5 separate regions of the Homo sapiens genome follow, and regions 1, 2, 3 and 4 are each linked to region 5. The links are contacts of gene promoters, found by promoter capture Hi-C in human tissues and cell types (Jung and others, 2019). All regions are on one chromosome and are shown on one strand. Each heading gives the region's core, a stretch centred on a gene start or on the middle of the fragment in contact. The rest is flanking DNA. Distances are from core to core; before and after follow the strand shown. Region 1 overlaps LINC01307 (long intergenic non-protein coding RNA 1307). Region 2 overlaps SNX7 (sorting nexin 7). Region 3 overlaps SLC30A7 (solute carrier family 30 member 7). Region 4 overlaps SLC30A7 (solute carrier family 30 member 7). Region 5 holds the start of AGL (amylo-alpha-1,6-glucosidase and 4-alpha-glucanotransferase).

The links. Contacts are between HindIII fragments. The study calls those that stand out against the background at their distance.
Region 1: a contact is called between a fragment that was not itself captured here and the fragment with the promoter of AGL in region 5, in 1 of the 25 tissues and cell types used here (spleen).
Region 2: a contact is called between a fragment that was not itself captured here and the fragment with the promoter of AGL in region 5, in 1 of the 25 tissues and cell types used here (liver).
Region 3: a contact is called between a fragment that was not itself captured here and the fragment with the promoter of AGL in region 5, in 1 of the 25 tissues and cell types used here (stomach).
Region 4: a fragment that was not itself captured here is called in contact with the fragment with the promoter of AGL in region 5 in 1 of the 25 tissues and cell types used here (neural progenitor cells).

Annotation. Positions count from the first base shown.
Region 1 is chr1:101,362,202-101,365,547 of GRCh38, reverse strand. All of the region lies in intron 4 of LINC01307 (long intergenic non-protein coding RNA 1307), which reads right to left. Among named protein-coding and RNA genes, the nearest start is that of LINC01307, 40 kb to the right of the region's middle. RefSeq lists a silencer at 928-1,027 and an enhancer at 1,458-1,527. The HindIII fragment of the contact is 7,284 bases long and covers 1-3,346 here.
Region 2 is chr1:98,700,264-98,703,744 of GRCh38, reverse strand. SNX7 (sorting nexin 7) reads right to left here. Exons shown (of 9, transcript NM_015976.5): 7 at 1,842-1,928. Among named protein-coding and RNA genes, the nearest start is that of SNX7, 40 kb to the right of the region's middle. The HindIII fragment of the contact is 3,132 bases long and covers 45-3,176 here.
Region 3 is chr1:100,954,544-100,957,860 of GRCh38, reverse strand. All of the region lies in intron 8 of SLC30A7 (solute carrier family 30 member 7), which reads right to left. Among named protein-coding and RNA genes, the nearest start is that of SLC30A7, 60 kb to the right of the region's middle. The HindIII fragment of the contact is 6,198 bases long and covers 1-3,317 here.
Region 4 is chr1:100,929,531-100,932,854 of GRCh38, reverse strand. All of the region lies in intron 8 of SLC30A7 (solute carrier family 30 member 7), which reads right to left. Among named protein-coding and RNA genes, the nearest start is that of SLC30A7, 35 kb to the right of the region's middle. The HindIII fragment of the contact is 3,099 bases long and covers 193-3,291 here.
Region 5 is chr1:99,848,935-99,852,003 of GRCh38, reverse strand. AGL (amylo-alpha-1,6-glucosidase and 4-alpha-glucanotransferase) reads right to left here and starts at 1,643. Exons shown (of 34, transcript NM_000642.3): 1 at 1,589-1,643; 2 at 880-1,029. The coding sequence starts at 961. RefSeq lists enhancers at 549-1,522, 2,173-2,322, 1,523-2,497 and a silencer at 1,673-1,992. The HindIII fragment of the contact is 6,862 bases long and covers 1-3,069 here.

The DNA.
Region 1 (3,346 bases), core at 229-2,728, 1.5 Mb before region 5:
ATTCCCAGCACAGTAGGAGGTAAGTGTAGTTCCAAGGAGAATGGGGCAAAACCCAGAGGCCAGCCCTCAAACTCAAGAAACACAGCACAAAGCTGTCTTTCCAAAGCTATGTGGTTCCGAGCCCAGGCTTATGGTATCCAGCTTTTCCACTGTGGTTTTGAAACGCTGGCATCTCCTTCTAGGTCCTCCATGAGCTCACACTCAGAACTAAGAGTTATGTTTGTCTTAGTAAATTCCTATTTTCTGACACTAACATTCTTGTTATGGCTCTTCCATCCTGGCATCCCCTCCAAGCTCCGTCTGCAGGACATCCTCCCTTTTCTAATGTCACCTTGTGTCCTGTCTCCTGTCTCCCATGGAGTAGACATCCTTTCAGCTTCCTTATCCCCCTCTGGACCCAAACAAACGGACTTCCCAAATGTTGAGGGACTTAGAGGCCTTTTCCTGCTCACCTAACGTCTACCTTTTCCTCCTAAAAACTTATCTTGTTGGAAACCCTTCATGGGACTAAGCCAGCTTTGCAATTTAAGATGCTGAGCTGCACAACAGGAGAGGTCAGGTGACAACAGAGTGGAAAAATCAGCAGAGCACTTGGAGAAAGAGCCAATGGACAATTTCCTTAATCCTTCCATCTCCTTATATGTCCTGTGATCTTTTTTGTCACTGCTTGGGCAGTTTCCTATTACAATTACACTGCATTTCAGCATCAGACAGCTCATCTCTTTTCCTTTTTAGGAGAAACTAGGGAGATACTGTCCTTCTATAGCCCCTGACCCAGCAGTTCCCCTGGCCTCTGGAGCTCCAGCCTAGTGCCAGATCAACAAGGGCTTGCAACCAGAAGACCCCTGAAGTTCTCTAAGGCTGTCTGTCTTTTCACTCACTACTAAAATAACTCCCCTTTCAGCAACACATATAAGTCATCCTGACAGCTCCAGGATTTATCTAGAGAAAGGGTTTAGTGGTGACAGTCAACCTGAAAAGGGAGCTGTGGGACTGGCTGTGAAACTACATTTGCATAGCAGGTCCATGGTTTAGGGGTGGATTATATGTTCCAAATGAGTTTTTAAGATACTATATTTTTGTACGGATATAATACACATAATACATAACATTGTTTTAATTGTCTTTGTCAAAGGATGGGCGATTCATGAAGATTGTGAAGGTAAAAGGCCCTAAATCGTCCCTTGACTACTACCATGGTTCCAGTCTTTCCTTAGACACTGAATATACTGAGTGAAAAGTAGTTTCTTCACTTCTCCCCCATCATATGGCATTTCCTCAGGGCTGAAGGCTATAAGCCAGCTTGGGGTAACACCACAATGGAGGTGCTGCTGAGCCTGCATTGTCTGAGGCAGATGCTTAGCAAGGGAAGCTCCTCACATTCACCCACAGAAAGTGAAAAAACACAGGGGCTCAGGCCCAGCTCCCAGATTTACTGAATCAGACTCTCAAAGGCTGAGGCTCAAGCACAAGTATCACAAGCACCCCAGGTGATTCTGATGCATAGCCCTGGACAAGAGGCCTGGCCTAATGAGAAAAATCAGGCAATTTGAGTGGGGATACCTAGGTTCAAGTCACACCTCTGCCAAGTGTTATTCACATGGCTCAGAATAACTCATTAAACCCTGGGCACTTTTCTCATGAGTAAAATGAAGACAATAATAGTGCCTGCTCTGCTCTCCTCTAAGGTCATTATAAAGAGCAAATGAAATGACAGTTGTGACATGTCTGCAGCCCTTAAACTCTCAGCTCTGTCCAGTTGACCACTTGAGGGACCTGCACTCTCGCCATCCAAGGACTTGGAGGCCTTCCTTGTCTATGATCTCAGGAAGGCATGTGTTTCCCTTATCTCTGCTGGATCTCAGCTATTTCCATTGTATTAGTTCATTTACATGCTGCTGATAAAGACTTACCCAAAACTGGGAACAAAAAGAGGTTTAATTGGACTTACAGTTCCACATGACTGGGAAGGCCTCAGAATCATGGCAGGAAGTGAAATGCACTTCTTACATGGTGGCAGCAAGAGAAAATGAGAAAGAAGCAAAAGCAGAAACCCCTGATAAACCCATCAGATCTCGTGAGACTTATTCACTATCACGAAATTAGCATGGGAAAGACTGACCCCCATGATTCAACTACCTACCCCTGGGTCCCTCCCACAACATGTGAGAATCCTAGGAGATACAATTCAAGTTGAGATTTGGGTGGGAACATGGCCAAACCATATCACTCTGCCCCTGGCCCCTCCAAATCTCATGTCCTCACCTTTCAAAACCAATCATGCCTTCCCAGCAGTCCCCCAAAGTCTTAACTCATTTCAGCATTAATCCAAAAGTCCACAGTCCAAAGGCTTACCTGAGACAAGTCAAGTCCCTTTCACCTATGAGCCTGTAAAATCAAAAGCAAGCTAGTTACTTCCTGGACACAATGAGGGTATAGGTATTGGGTAAATACAGAAGTTCCAAATGGGAGAAATTAGCCAAAACAAAGGGGTTACAGGGCCCATGCAAGTCTGAAATCGATTGGGGCAAATTTTAAAGCTCCAAAACGATCTCCTTTGACTCCAGCTCTAATATCCAGGTCACGCTGATGCAAAAACTTTCCTCTGGTCTTGGGCATCTCCACCTTTGTGACTTTGCAGGGTACAGCCTCCCTCCCAGCTGCTTTCACGGGCTGGCATTGAGTGTCTGTGGCTTTTCCAGGAGCATGGTGAAAGCTGTTGGTGGATCTACCATTCTGGGCTCAGGACGGTAGCCCTCTTCTCACAGCTCCACTAGGCAGTGCCCCAGTGGGGACTCTGTGTGGGGGGCACTCACGCCACATTTCCCTTCTGCACTGCCCTAGTGGAGGTTCTCCATGAGGGCCCTGCCCCTGCAGCAAACTTTTGCCTGGGTATACAGGCGTTTCCATACATCTTCTGAAGTCTAGGCGGAGGTTCTCAAAACTCAATTCTTGACTTCTGTGCACCTGCAGGCTCAACACCATGTGGAAGTTCCAGCTTTATGTCATAACCTTATTCGGCGAGGCTTTGATCGCTTTTCACTTCCGCCAGATATTACAGTGGTCCGTTACATTGATGACATTATGCTGATTGGATCCAGTGAGCAAGAAGCAGCAAACACACTAGACTTATTGGTGAAACATTTGCTTGCCAGAAGATGGGAAATAAATCTGACTAAAATCCAGGGACCTTCTACCTCAGTAAAAGTTCTAGGGGCCCAGTGGTGTGGGGCCTGTCTAGATACTCCTTCTAAGGTGAAGGATAAGTTGTGCATTTGGCTCCTCCTACAACCAAGAAAGAGGCACAATGCTGAGTGAGCCTATTTGGATTTTGGAGGCAACACAT
Region 2 (3,481 bases), core at 361-2,860, 1.1 Mb after region 5:
GACTCTTAACTCTCTCTCTATATATAGTTAAGAACTATATGTATATATGTATATATATGTTTATACACATATGTATATATATGTTTCTTAACTATATATAGAAAGAGTGTTAGGAGTCAATTGTTTCTTATCAAATAGAAAAGGTTAATCTGGGGTTCTCTCTAAATAATAAAGATGAGTTTTCCCTTGAGCACTAGTTCATCTAGTTCTACATTTTCTGTTATTCCCTCTCACAGATTCCTTTCTCCTACTCTGTCTACAGCAGCCCACCACTCCCCACTCACATTCCACTGGAGAGAACAGAATTTCAGTTAATATACATAGTCAAGAAACGTGAGAGTAATTCATAGTATAATAATTCTAAGTTGCATAGAACTATGCAAGTTAGACTTCGTAGACACAAGGACTCTTTGTATTTGTACTCATCTTTTCTGGTTTTCACAATATTAATTAAATAATGAAATAATTGCACATTCTGATTTTGTAGAGACTTCATGCTTCAAGCCTTCAATATGCTTGCACAAATCAGAGTAGTCCCTGTGGCTTCCACTCATTCCTTCACTACATATTTATTGAGTGACTACCATGTGCCAGGCAGTGCACAAGGGCCTGGGAGCACTCCAGTGAACAAATAAAAAAAATCTGCCCTTAAGGAGTTTCAATTATGGAGAGGGAAAGAGAGAGAAAAATATACAAAGAAAACTAATTAGGAAGTCATATGTTAGGAAGTGATTAAAGTTAGGGAGAAAATTAAAGCAGGGAGGGGGGATGCAGAGTCCTTGGCCAGGTCAGGGCTGAGGAGGCTGCAATATTACAGATTTACAGGGAAGTTTCAAGGACTCCCCCGCTCACCTGATGTAAGTGCACTCAATATTGTATTCAATAACAACCTAAATCCTTAAATTTAAAGAAAAATTTTAAAAATATTTCATAATGCACTCAGTAGAAGTTCGTTAGGTTAAAAGTCCATTTTTCCCACTTCTATACCTGCTTTCTGATAGGCAGCACTGTCTGAGGCAGGCAAGAGACGTCATCACCTCCAATCCTATTCTGCATTTCAAGACCTATATATAAACTTAGGCAAATTACTCTACCTTTCAAGAGTCTTCTCACCTTTAAAGTGAGAATAATTATTCCAACCTGATAGTATTACTCTGAAAATGCAAAGATACTAAAATATAAATATAAAAATACCATGGGTAAAATAATCTATATCTAGAATTTGCTTTAGAATACTTCAGTAAAAATTTAAAAATGAGGAGAGACAATAAAAAAAGTTGAGCCAAATGGTGAGAATTAATGAAGCCCAGTTATGAGTATATGAGAGCTCATTGTATTATTAGATCTCATTTTGTTTGAAAATTTCCATAATAAAATATCTTAAGGGAAAGATTAAACTTGCAAACGCAAAGATATTCCCTTTCATAAAGATTTTAACAACACTTAGAAAAGAAGTATACAGGAACATTAATGTATATAAATATCTCAAAAAACTATAAAAAAGTAGATTTACTTACTGAGTACTTACTAGCCTGGAATAATGCTAGCATTGCCTTTCATACTTTCTTCTAACACATTATTTCCTTTTTACAAAATTATACTTTCTTAATAGTATGAGACATAAGTCAGAAAGGCAGAAAACCGTCATTGTTAAGCTTGTAGACTCACATGGTATCCAATGTATAACAGATTTTAGGAAGAAATTTTACTATAATTTGCTTAATGCTTAGAAACAATCATATAAGAAACAATCATGTAAGGACAATCATGTAAGGACATTGCTAATAAAAATTTTAGACAATGAATTCTATATGATTGTATCAAGAAACTTAAAAACTTACCAGATCAGTATCTGCCTTTTTATAGGTCAAAACTTCAACTTTGGAATCCAGTTCTGCTTGTATTTGGTCTCTTCTTTTCATAACACCCTTTACATTAAAACACACAGATAAAATAGGCTGTACTTAGTTTTAATAATCTTTCCTATAGCAAAAATATATATTTCAGAATATAAATAGCATCTCTTCCCCAAGCCATCAGTCATTTGGGGATATAATACATTTAAAAAGTTGTTTTTTTTTTTTTGTTACTCTCTAAAAACTAAATTGAAAGCAAGTATTTAAGAGGGTTTTTTTTCCTATAAATGTTTTATTAGTTTTCCTAATGCACATTTTACCCATTTAAGCATTGTACATATGTACTACATTTGGTGGAATACGCATGTACAATTCTTCAAAAATAGTAAAGAGCAAAACAAACAAAAAATAGTAGAAGCACTGGAGAAATACACTATGGCATAAACTAGTTATGGGTGGGATGTCACATGGACCATATCTACACTCTGTGGCAACCTTCTTACCTGACTCCAAAGGATCAGATAATCAAACAGGAAATTATGGTAGGAAATCAGAAAATTGAAGTATGCATTCATATCCTAAGCATTTTATTTTAGCTCAAAATATAAAATATTCATCAGTTAGCCAAGCTTTGGATGAGAGATCATAGCCTCCTCTTTGATAGGAGTTTCTTGTTTTCTTGATTTCATGTTTCAGAGTTTTTAAACTTAAAGCACCCATGTGAAGAAATTTGAGTGCAGAATTCAACTACATCTTTCATTTTTGCCGAACTTTTACAATGTCTTTAAGTGATTCACATTTCTTCCGAGACATGTAACTTAGACTTTAAGGATACAAGGACTCTTTTTATTTGTACTCATCTTTTACTGGTTTTCACAATATTAAATAATGAAATTCTAATAAGAAGCACAAATGGCCTGAACAGGTTAAGGAAAAAATAAAACTAAGTTTGGACAAGCAAACAATTCAACCAGCTAGAGAAGTACAGGACATAAAAGAGAAGGGCCTTCTGGTGTTTTAAAGAAGAAGGAAAGAAACTAGACACAAATCAGTTACATGGAGGTCAAACAAGATGGCTCTACACTATTTAAATGATAACCAAAAAGCATTAAGGATTAAGAATCACTTAGTACAGTTTTGCACCTGGTGGAATGACTCTTAAGACATTCAAAGCAGGCCAGGCACAGTAGTTCACACCTATATCACATCTCAGCACTTTGGAAGAAAGAGGTGGGAGGACCACTTGAGCCCAGGAGTTCGAGGCTGTAGTGAGCTATGATTATGCCTCTACACTCCAGCCTGTGCAACAGAGTGAGACCATGTCTCTTAAAAAAAAAAAAAATCAAAGGAAGCTAACATTTTTCCTAGTTGCAAAGAAGTCCATAGAAAATTCAACTGATATCTCAAATTCCTTTATATTTACCTCAATGTTTAAATACCATTAATGTCAAGAAAGCCCTTCCTTTCTTTGACCAAAATGACTCACTCTCTAATTCAGTCCTATTTATTTAAGGTTTGTTTCAAAAAAGATGAAGCACTGGTTTTCATATGCACAAATACATTTTGAGTAAAAGGTTGCTTCAGAGGACAACTGGTGAAAATTACATGAAATTAATCATTTTTAT
Region 3 (3,317 bases), core at 549-3,048, 1.1 Mb before region 5:
AAAGAATCCATCACAGAATGTTTTCATATATTAAACTTAAAATTTTTATCTTTTCCTAACTGTACTCAGAAAATGGGCACAAAAATTGTTCTCCTTGAATTATGTTTGAGAATTAGAAAAAAGGTTTTTTTCCTACCTACCTCGTAAGTTTAGTTATTTTAATAATTTCTTCTCCAATCTCAATCTAGGGAACTATTAACAATGTTTAGATATCTGACGTGAAAATTACACTCATGGAAACCATGACACTTGGGTTCTGATTCTGCCATTAAATAGCTTTAAGCAAATCACATAGTCTTCCAGAGCATCAGTTTTCTCATCTATAAAATGAAGGAGTAGACTAAACATCCAGGCAATTTCTTTCATCTTTTATATATTTTCCATTCAATAAGAAAAAGTGGTTAAACTATAAAGAATACTAGAGAGAGAATATATTTGGAAATGAAAGAAAATATAAATTGTTTTTATATACTAAGGGGAAAAAAGCAGTGTCACCAAATGACACATAGATATACTTGGCAAAATGATTTATTCTATCATGATAGAAAATCCAGCAAATGAATTTTATTAAGCAATCAATATTAAGCGATTATTAAGGATCTACTACTATATATCTGGCATCAGATTTTCTGGAACCAGGTGGGACCTTACTCTCGAGTTGTGGCAATGGTGACCTAGAGCACCAAAGTAACTTGTTTAAGGACACAGCTATTAAGCAGGAGAACTAGAACAGATCAGGTCGTTAGACTCCAAGTTCAGTTTTGAAAAGTTCAAGTCAACAAACATCTGTTATATGCCAACCATGTAGCAAGCATGTGCTAGACACTGGAAATACAAAAATAAATAATATAGAATATTTCATCTCAGAGAAATTCATAACTTTATTTTTAATAAGCCTGCAGAGAAGGCAATGGAAATCAGTCATCAAACTTATTTAGGGCCAACCATTTAGAAGAAGGCACATATGAATTTAAAGCAACTACATATTATGCTTGTATCCATTTTCATTTTCCATGAACTTTTGGTAAATGGTTTTCTTAATTGGTATGTTGATAACTTCTTTTTAAACATACCTTTAAAAGTAAAGGGGAAGAGAAAAAGGAATAGAAGAGGCACTGACTCAACTGCAACAGAAGGCATACAGTATGAGAAATAACATTACTTAAGCAATAGGTGTGAATAACTTTTGTGAACAACTTTTAAAAATTTATTGTTTTAGAATATTCAGGTTTAGTCTAGTTGTTTCCCCCAAGGAGCTAAACACAGTAACAGATGGTGAATCCCATCTATAATAATCCTTGAGGAGATCAGCCTTAAAACATTAAAGACATTCCCTTAGACAGTCCAACAGTCTCTTAATAAGTCACCTAGAAAAAACATCTACAGATTTATCCAAATCTTTGTTCAAATTTTTATGTGTGTATTCCATGTGTGTTGCCTTCCAAAGTCTGCTACTCCCTGCCACCACCTTTTTAAAAAATAACCTAGTACTTCCTTTTTTCCTCCTAAAATTCGCTTTCACATGAGGCCCTTAGTTTGAGGACTCTAGAATTAGTAAAGAAGTTACATGATCACAAATAATATCATATTAGAATTAAAAGGAAATTTAGAGATCACTCATTTTAACACCATTCAAGAACAATATGTAGATAAACATTTTAATAAAATGTTAGAAATAAACATATATTTTAAAATTAACTAAATTATAAGACATCATCACTGATATAAGGAAATAAAATTATAGTGCATTTTTATCTCTTTTTTTCATTAGGATCAATTGTGGTTTTTATTGATTTGCTTATACTGAAATTTGGAATGGTTGTCTTTTTAGGTAGAATTTTAATAAAATCTTTACACTCAACAGCAGCAAGCATTTCACCAAAGCAAATGGATATGTCACACTAACTTTCTCCAATAGCAATTTAAAAATAATGCAAGAATTTCAGCTGTAGGAGCAATAACTAGGTCATAAAACTATGGTAGAGAATAAAGGTACTTGCTAAATCACACGGTGATACACAATTTAGAACAAGGCCAATTTCTATAATAATTTAAAGAGTCATAAAAATGTAAAAGAAACCTTTAGAAACTCTAGTTTTTGCCTTTTAAAATTGTGTTTAGCTCAGGAGTTTGTGTCCATATTTTTCTGATTAACTATTGTAATAGAGAAGCATAAACCAGATTTTAGCTTGGATCTATCTAGCCATAATGAAAGGAAATGTAGAAAACGACAAGCTTAGCAAATTCCTGACTGAGCTAAGACTTAGAGCTACATCCAAACCCAAAAAGTAAGCATTTGGAAACAATTAGAGGTTCACTTCTGGTTGACTAACCCAATTCTAGCATTCACAATGAAGCACCATTTCCCTATCATAAATAAAAAGAGATGAGTCATTAGGTATGAGTTTACCAGTAAAACAGGGCAATGATTTTATTCTTCAAAAGCTGAAGGTAAATCACAGTTATAATCTTACAATCATAAACATAATATTAATTTGAAAGCTTTACCCTTAAATGCTAACAGATTAAATAAGCAGTAGTTACTTATTACTCTTTACTGCCAGTAATTTTTTACAAGTAAAAATATATTCAAATCTTACTTCAGAAGCAGCTTTTAGTGAAAGAGCCTCACTACTTCAACAGTAAATAAAATTATCTACCAGTAATTATAAACAAACCAAACAAAAAAGGGTATGCATTACGAAAACTTCTGAAGAACAGTCTACTGACAATCACAATGTTTAACAATAAAAAATTTCAGTTAAAATTATTACTTAGATCTGAGAATAAATGTCAAGTAATATTAATTAAAACAAGATTACAGATTCATCTTGATGAATCAGCTTATGAGCTAAGTTTTCCTATATATTGTAGGGGTTCTTACAATCTACAAACACAAAGAAAGAAAATTATAGTTTTAAAAATAAATTTTAAAAATAAATTTGGCTTATGTTGTATATCATATTTTCAGGGGACAAAAAAGCCAAAGAAAACTGGCCCATAATGGTAACGCAATTCACATTTAAATTAAATATTCAGTCACATTTGCATAAATATAATTAATTCATAGTGATGGATAATTACCTATTAATCCAGAATTTCATAAGCCTTCTATAGAATAGATAACCAAAAATCTTATCACCTGGGATTGTGCTTTACTTTATAATTATACTGTGTTTCTGAAACCTCTGGCTCAAATCAATGCATATTTATAGAGAACATGCTTTACCAATAATGGGGATATTAAGATGTCCTAAGGTACCCCTAGAACTTAGAGCCAAAGTCATGAAAAAGTCATCCTTTTCCATAAGCTTCTG
Region 4 (3,324 bases), core at 493-2,992, 1.1 Mb before region 5:
CATCAACAATTTTAGAAGAGGGGGCCCTTGATTAAATTACCATCTATACTGTACCTTGTTCATTTTTATAGTCTAGCTCTGTATTGTTTTTATTTGTGTATAGGTTTCTCTCTCTCATATTACTTGGTGAGATCTTTGTATTCCACTTCTCTAGAACACTCTAACACACTCCCAGTAAGTTTCCTTAAATGAACCTACACAAACCAAGCAATCCCATATCAAACAATGATAAGGCATAAATAAAAAGGAAAAAGTGTTGGCTTGATTTTTAATCACAGACCTACACATATATACCATCATTAGATTTTAAATTACTAACGTATATATCTAGTTATATTATACCACTCACATTTCTATTTTTCATGCTTTGTAATAGAAATATCAGTTGCAAACCACAAAGAGGCCATATTAAGCAGTTTCCTATTTATTTATTTATTTTTGAGACAGAGTCTTGCTCTGTCACGCAGGCTGAAGTGCAGTGGCGCAATCTCGGCTCACTGCAACCTCCACCTCCCAGGTTCAAGCGATTCTCCTGCCTCAGCCTCCCAAGTAGCTGGGATTACAGATGTGTGCCACCACACCTGGCTAATTTTTGTATTTTTAGTAGAGATGGGGTTTCACCATGTTGGCCAGGTTGGTCTCAAACTCGTGACCTCAGGTGATCTACCCGCCTCGGCCTCCCAAAGTGCTGGGATTACAGGCATGAGCAACCGTGCCCAGCCATTAAGCAGTTTTTTATGGGACTAACCGTTCTAAAACTTTTGTGGAAAAGGAATAACACTCTGATTTTTAAATTTCTCCCTTCATTTTAGCTTTTATACTCCAATAAAGTCAATGATGAAACATACAACATTTCTTAGAAAAACTACAGTTCAAATATAGCAACAACAAAAATGGTAGGGTTAGATTAAAAGCAGAAATAGCACACTCTGGTGTTTGTACACAGCTCTTCTTATTTGACTTTTTGAGGAGTTTTTGGCTTTAGGGTAAAGGAAAAAATAATACAGTATGTTTGATGTTTAAAAGAAACCAAATACATTTCAACAATGAATTCCTGAATAACTCTGATTGGAAGATGGTATCTCAGAACACTTTAACTCCAATTTACAAATCCAGTTTACAAATAGACTCCTAATTTACAAATTGGTAGTATTTTAAGGTATTTTTAAGTTGGCTGTTTAAAAATCACCGATTTCCCACAAGAAACAATGCAAAAAGCAGTTAGGTTTTACAGTGAATATTTTAATAAGAGCACAGTACTAAACTCTGGTACTAAATTCTGGTAACTGAACAGTAAAAATTAAAAAAAAATACTCAGTGAGTTTCAAATAAGAGCATGGAAAATAAAATCCAGTAAGCAATCCTAGTAACCAAAAACCCTGCTCCCTCTTCATTGGCCAGGAGATAACCTTATCTCTAATACTAGCAGTTACAACCTTTTGGAGGCATTGACAGTTAAGGCATATTTACGAATTGTGCATGTGTGTGTTTATGTGTGTAGTAATGTAATGGCAGAGAGAGGAAATGAGTGGAGATTTTGCTTAAGTCAGGAATTTTTAAAATATACTTAATGGCAGTTTATTGGTAGTTGTACTGAATTAATACCTGATACTGTATCCTCAGATCCTAAGAAAGTGTTGAGGACAAAGCAGATGTTTCAATAAAAACTACCGAATTTTTGCTGAATGATATTCTTACATAATTAGGTTCTTAAGTTCAAAATTCTGTTTACCATTACTATGCTCACTGTGTTCTTTCCAGTATTATAAAACCCTCTGCCAGCCTTTAACTAGGGTTCCTCATCTGAACCAATGAACACAGAAAATGATTTTAGCGACTATTTCTCAATTGCCCCAAGGATAATACATAACTGTAATTTTCTAGATACATAGGTAAGAAGTTAATAATTCCATACAAATTGAGGCTTTATAGTATTAGGGTGTTCTTTCCCAATTGAGAAAGGCTGTTAGACTAATCAGTTTTTATAAATGTTCTTACTATGATGGTTTTATGCATGATTAAAGAATACAATAACTATGCAATAATGTTCCCATATGTTCAATTTTACAATATGGGCACATATACAAGCAGCAAGTTAAAATCTTGGTAAACTGTTTATCTTAGTCCCCAAAAGTAATAGTTCACAAATTATAACCACTTGAAAGGCAAACCACAAAGGAAATTGTTAGGGAACACCCAAAAACAATTTTGAAAAAAGTAAAATCTCCAGAATTTGTCATATGGTAACTTTCTACATATTAAAAAAAAAAATGCTTACTTTTTGCTTAATACAGGCCACAAATTTATTCTATTCAACTCTTTCTATTTAAATATGAAATCAACAAGATTTATCAAAATCAGTACAGGGTCTAAATCCTATATTCATGAACAATGATGATTTCTTATAATTTAGAATTTCAAGTTTATAATTTTGTTTCCATTAGTATACATTCTATTTTATACAGACCATTATTTATCATTTCTAAAGTCTGTACCTCAGTTTGCCTCTAAAAATTTGTTTCCTCTAAAATTAAGCTGCTATTTTAAAATTTTAGACCTAACAAAAAGACTTGTTTTTGGTTAAAAAGCTTTTCTTTGTACTTACAAATGATTTTGTGGTATGTATATATATATGTATATAAAAGTACAAAGCACCACAAGATGGTAACTGGTGAGTTGCAGAAAATTGATTTTTTTAAAAAAATCTAGCAAGGCTTCAGAAATATCACACCAGTAACAAAGTATATTTCTATATCCTGCTTAGTTTTATAATTATCCATCATGCATAGGTAACCCTTTCATTTAAGTGAATAAAAAAAAATCAAGCTACAGATCTATGTAAATTGCCTCGTCTCTAAACTGCAGTGAGATTCAAAGCTACAACTAATTGTTCAGATTTCTGCATTCTAAGTTATGAATTCATCTTCTATCCCAACTCACCTTAGGGAAAAAAGGAGCAGAACTACTCTGAAAGCTCTTATAGGAATCATATTTTCAGAAAATAAAAAATCACACTCTTACATTATATTCATTCTCCTGTTTTTCATTGCAAAACAAAATTCATCACAATACAACTCAGTTTTACCCCAAAATTTATTATCACCCTTTGTCTGTGTAGAAAATGTTGAAAAAAAAAAACCTGTCTTTTTCTAAGAAATAACTTTCACTGTGGAAGTGAAAATGGAACGCTGGGCAAGCTAGAAGGGATAGACATATATTTCCATGGCACGTTTTCAACTGAGCAGCAGTAGACCCAGAGAATTTAAAAGAAGTGCCACTATTTCTCTTGCTATTGATGAACTGCAAATACTGAATATATAAAAA
Region 5 (3,069 bases), core at 394-2,893:
GGAAAGCCAAAAATGGAGTAGGTACTCAGTGATTTTAAATGCCAAAGTTGGAAAAAGGCGCGGATTTGGCATGAAGATATCACATTGTATGTGTGAAATTTTTTTCAAAAATTTAATTCTTAAAACATTAGCGAAATTTAAAAATTCCTTTGAAATGTTTATGACTAGCAACATCCATTTGGTACATTAATAAGGGGGACTGGATTTTTCATATATTACACTTCTTCAATGTTGAAAAATTACAAAGGCTAAGAAAATAAAACATCTATTAACTAGCCTTGTAGAAAAGTAATTTGATCTTTTAAATACAGATCAACTATATATAGTTCAACATAACCAGATGAGTTATTGCACTTTTTATTTGCTAAGAAAATATTTTCAGCTTTTACCTACTCCACATTTGAGAAGTTTTTGATATACATAAACAATAGTTTACTATACTTTTTGCTGCAATCTATTTTGTCAATTCAAAGGTTCAACAAAGGAAAAGAGACAGTTATACAAAGGCAAAACTACATGCATACCCAAAGCAAAATTACATATGAAGTAATTTACCAAGTTTTAATAGTAAATGTTATTAGAAATAATATGGGCAATCTTCTGATCATATATTTAACTTCAATCTTAAGTGGGAATTAGTACGCAGAGAAAAGAGAACTATTTTATCCTTATCCTAACACGAGGGATATAAAATATTTTTAATTCAAATCAACATTAATTAGTGATATATGGAGAACACAGCACCATCTTTGCACAAATCAAGTTTTAGACCCTTGGAAATAATATTTATCTTAGAGCTTTAAAACATTTAACAGGACTGCCAATGAATTAAAAGTTTAAAAGACGCAAATGAGCAAATCAAAACAACTTGCTACTGACCTTGTTCAAGTCTGAAGAGGGTCTTTTCCAGTTTCTCCATTTCGTTCAGAAGTAAAATTCGAATCTGTTTACTGTGTCCCATTTTGGCTTCTAGAGGATTTGAAATCTTTCATAAGAATTAAAAGAACTCCACAGTCGAATGAGTTACCCCTATGAAACAAAAAGGAGTTAAAATATCGAAAATAACTATTGCCTTAAACTCTCCAGAGCTGACAGCGGCACTTACATGTTCGAAGTGTGTTTTATGCCTAGCAGAGCAATGAAAGAGAATGAATCTTATAACTATTAAGATTCGAGAAGGCAAATTAATAGTTGTTTCCTGCCTTTGAGCACAACGAATAAGACCGAAATAAAAATGCTGTATTACAGATTCTTACAATTAAAAAATTAAAAACCTAGACCATTCTCAGAGAAAAGCAATACACTTAGGAAAGCCTGAAGTCAGGGGGACATTCCCAGCCCCAAGCCACAGGGCTCTGGAGACTCCGAATGGCACTTCTGCTTACAAGAGATTAGTCTGCTCAAAGATAACAGGTGGGCAATCTCCCCATTCCCAAATTCGGGTCGCCAGCCACCAATGGGGAGATGAGAACAGAGGGAAGCAGTTGTTGCCTCTGGAATAGCTGCCGTAGACAGAAGATGTACAGAGCGAGCTATAGATAGAAAGAATGCGTTTCCCCGCGAGGCCAGCGGCATTCCTAGCACTTACGCCGAGGGAGTTATACGTGCGGCTTCTGGGGCACTGCAGGACCCGCGACTCTGGTGCTACGGTCGGGGGGAGGGGACGGGGAGAAACAGAAGGGGAAGGGCTGGCTGCCCAGCCTCGCACAGAAGCCGCAGCCCAAGGAGGGCCGGGCGCCGTGAAGGGCAAAGGGAGGGGCGGCGAGCGACCGGGGCAGCGCCGAGGCAGCTGGGTGAGAAGCAGGCAGAGTCTCAGCGACTTCGCCTCGCGCGGGTTCCTGGGCGCACCCGGTACCCAACCTGGCCGTGCGCGCACTCGCCCCAGGTGGGAGCGGACCGTACCTCTGGCCCACTTCCGGGAGGCTCGACCCGCCCGCCCCGACCGCTAGTCTCGCGAGAGCGTGGGCACCGCACCGTCTCAGTCGGCTCCGGGCCGGGGGACCTGGAGCCTGCTGCGGCTGAGGCCGGGAGCGGCGCTTTCTCCTTGCCCTGGGGAAGGTGCACCGGCCAAGGCGCGGCCTTCCTTTAACAGCCTGCGAGCTCACAGTTGCACATTAAAATCCCGCGGTACCGGCTGCGAGCTAGGTTGAGCTGCACAGTAGGATCTTTTGCTGGGAAGGGCTGAATGGTGAGGGGCAAACGACCTGGCTTCTGGTGTCTTTTGTGCCACCACGTGTTTTGTTTCTTTGTTTTGATAATTTTTACTTGGCCTAAGTTCTCAGAGTCCTGATTTCTAAGTGTCTAAAATAAGGGGCCTGGCTACAGCCTTGACATTCCAGCCAACACGTGTCCATCACTTCTAGTGCTAACAGACAGGACACATGTTCCTGAATGCAGACCCAGTAGGTAAGGTGTGGCCAGTCTGCAAACCATCGAGAGTGCAAACACCACTGATACTTAACGGTGTCCGGGTGTACCTCATGTACACTAGATAGACCCGGAGATCGTCTGAGATTAAGCTGCACTTATGTTAGGCCAGTAACTCAGAACTTTTTGCAGATGCTTAAGGAGATTTAATGCCTGAGGGTAAAGGAAAACCCATCTTCCAGGGCTTTTGGAGGGCTCCTAATGGTTATGAGAAAATGGACAGAAGATTTGGTTAACTAAGACTTGTGGCGTGTGGAGAAGATTCTTGCATTCTTTATTGTGGAATGACTGTAGGTCCAAAGAGGATATAAGTTAAAAAAAAAAACCCCATACTGAAGTATTTGTTTATTTCTGTAGATTTCTGAGAATGGCTAGTTGCAAATGGTCCGTAACTGACTTTGGGAACCCACAGCTCATTTTCTGGCCCCTACTATTTGCCAGGCACATAAGGTGCTGGGAATGCAGCAATAAAACAGTCACTGCCCTCAAGGAACTCCTACATTTTATTGGTGGGAGACAGATAAATTAAATAAATTATACAGGATATAATATATCCTATATAATAAGAAGGATATGTTATATCCTATATATAATAGGAAGGGGGAAGTGTGGAAGAGTAAGCAGAGAGAGGTTTGCATTTCT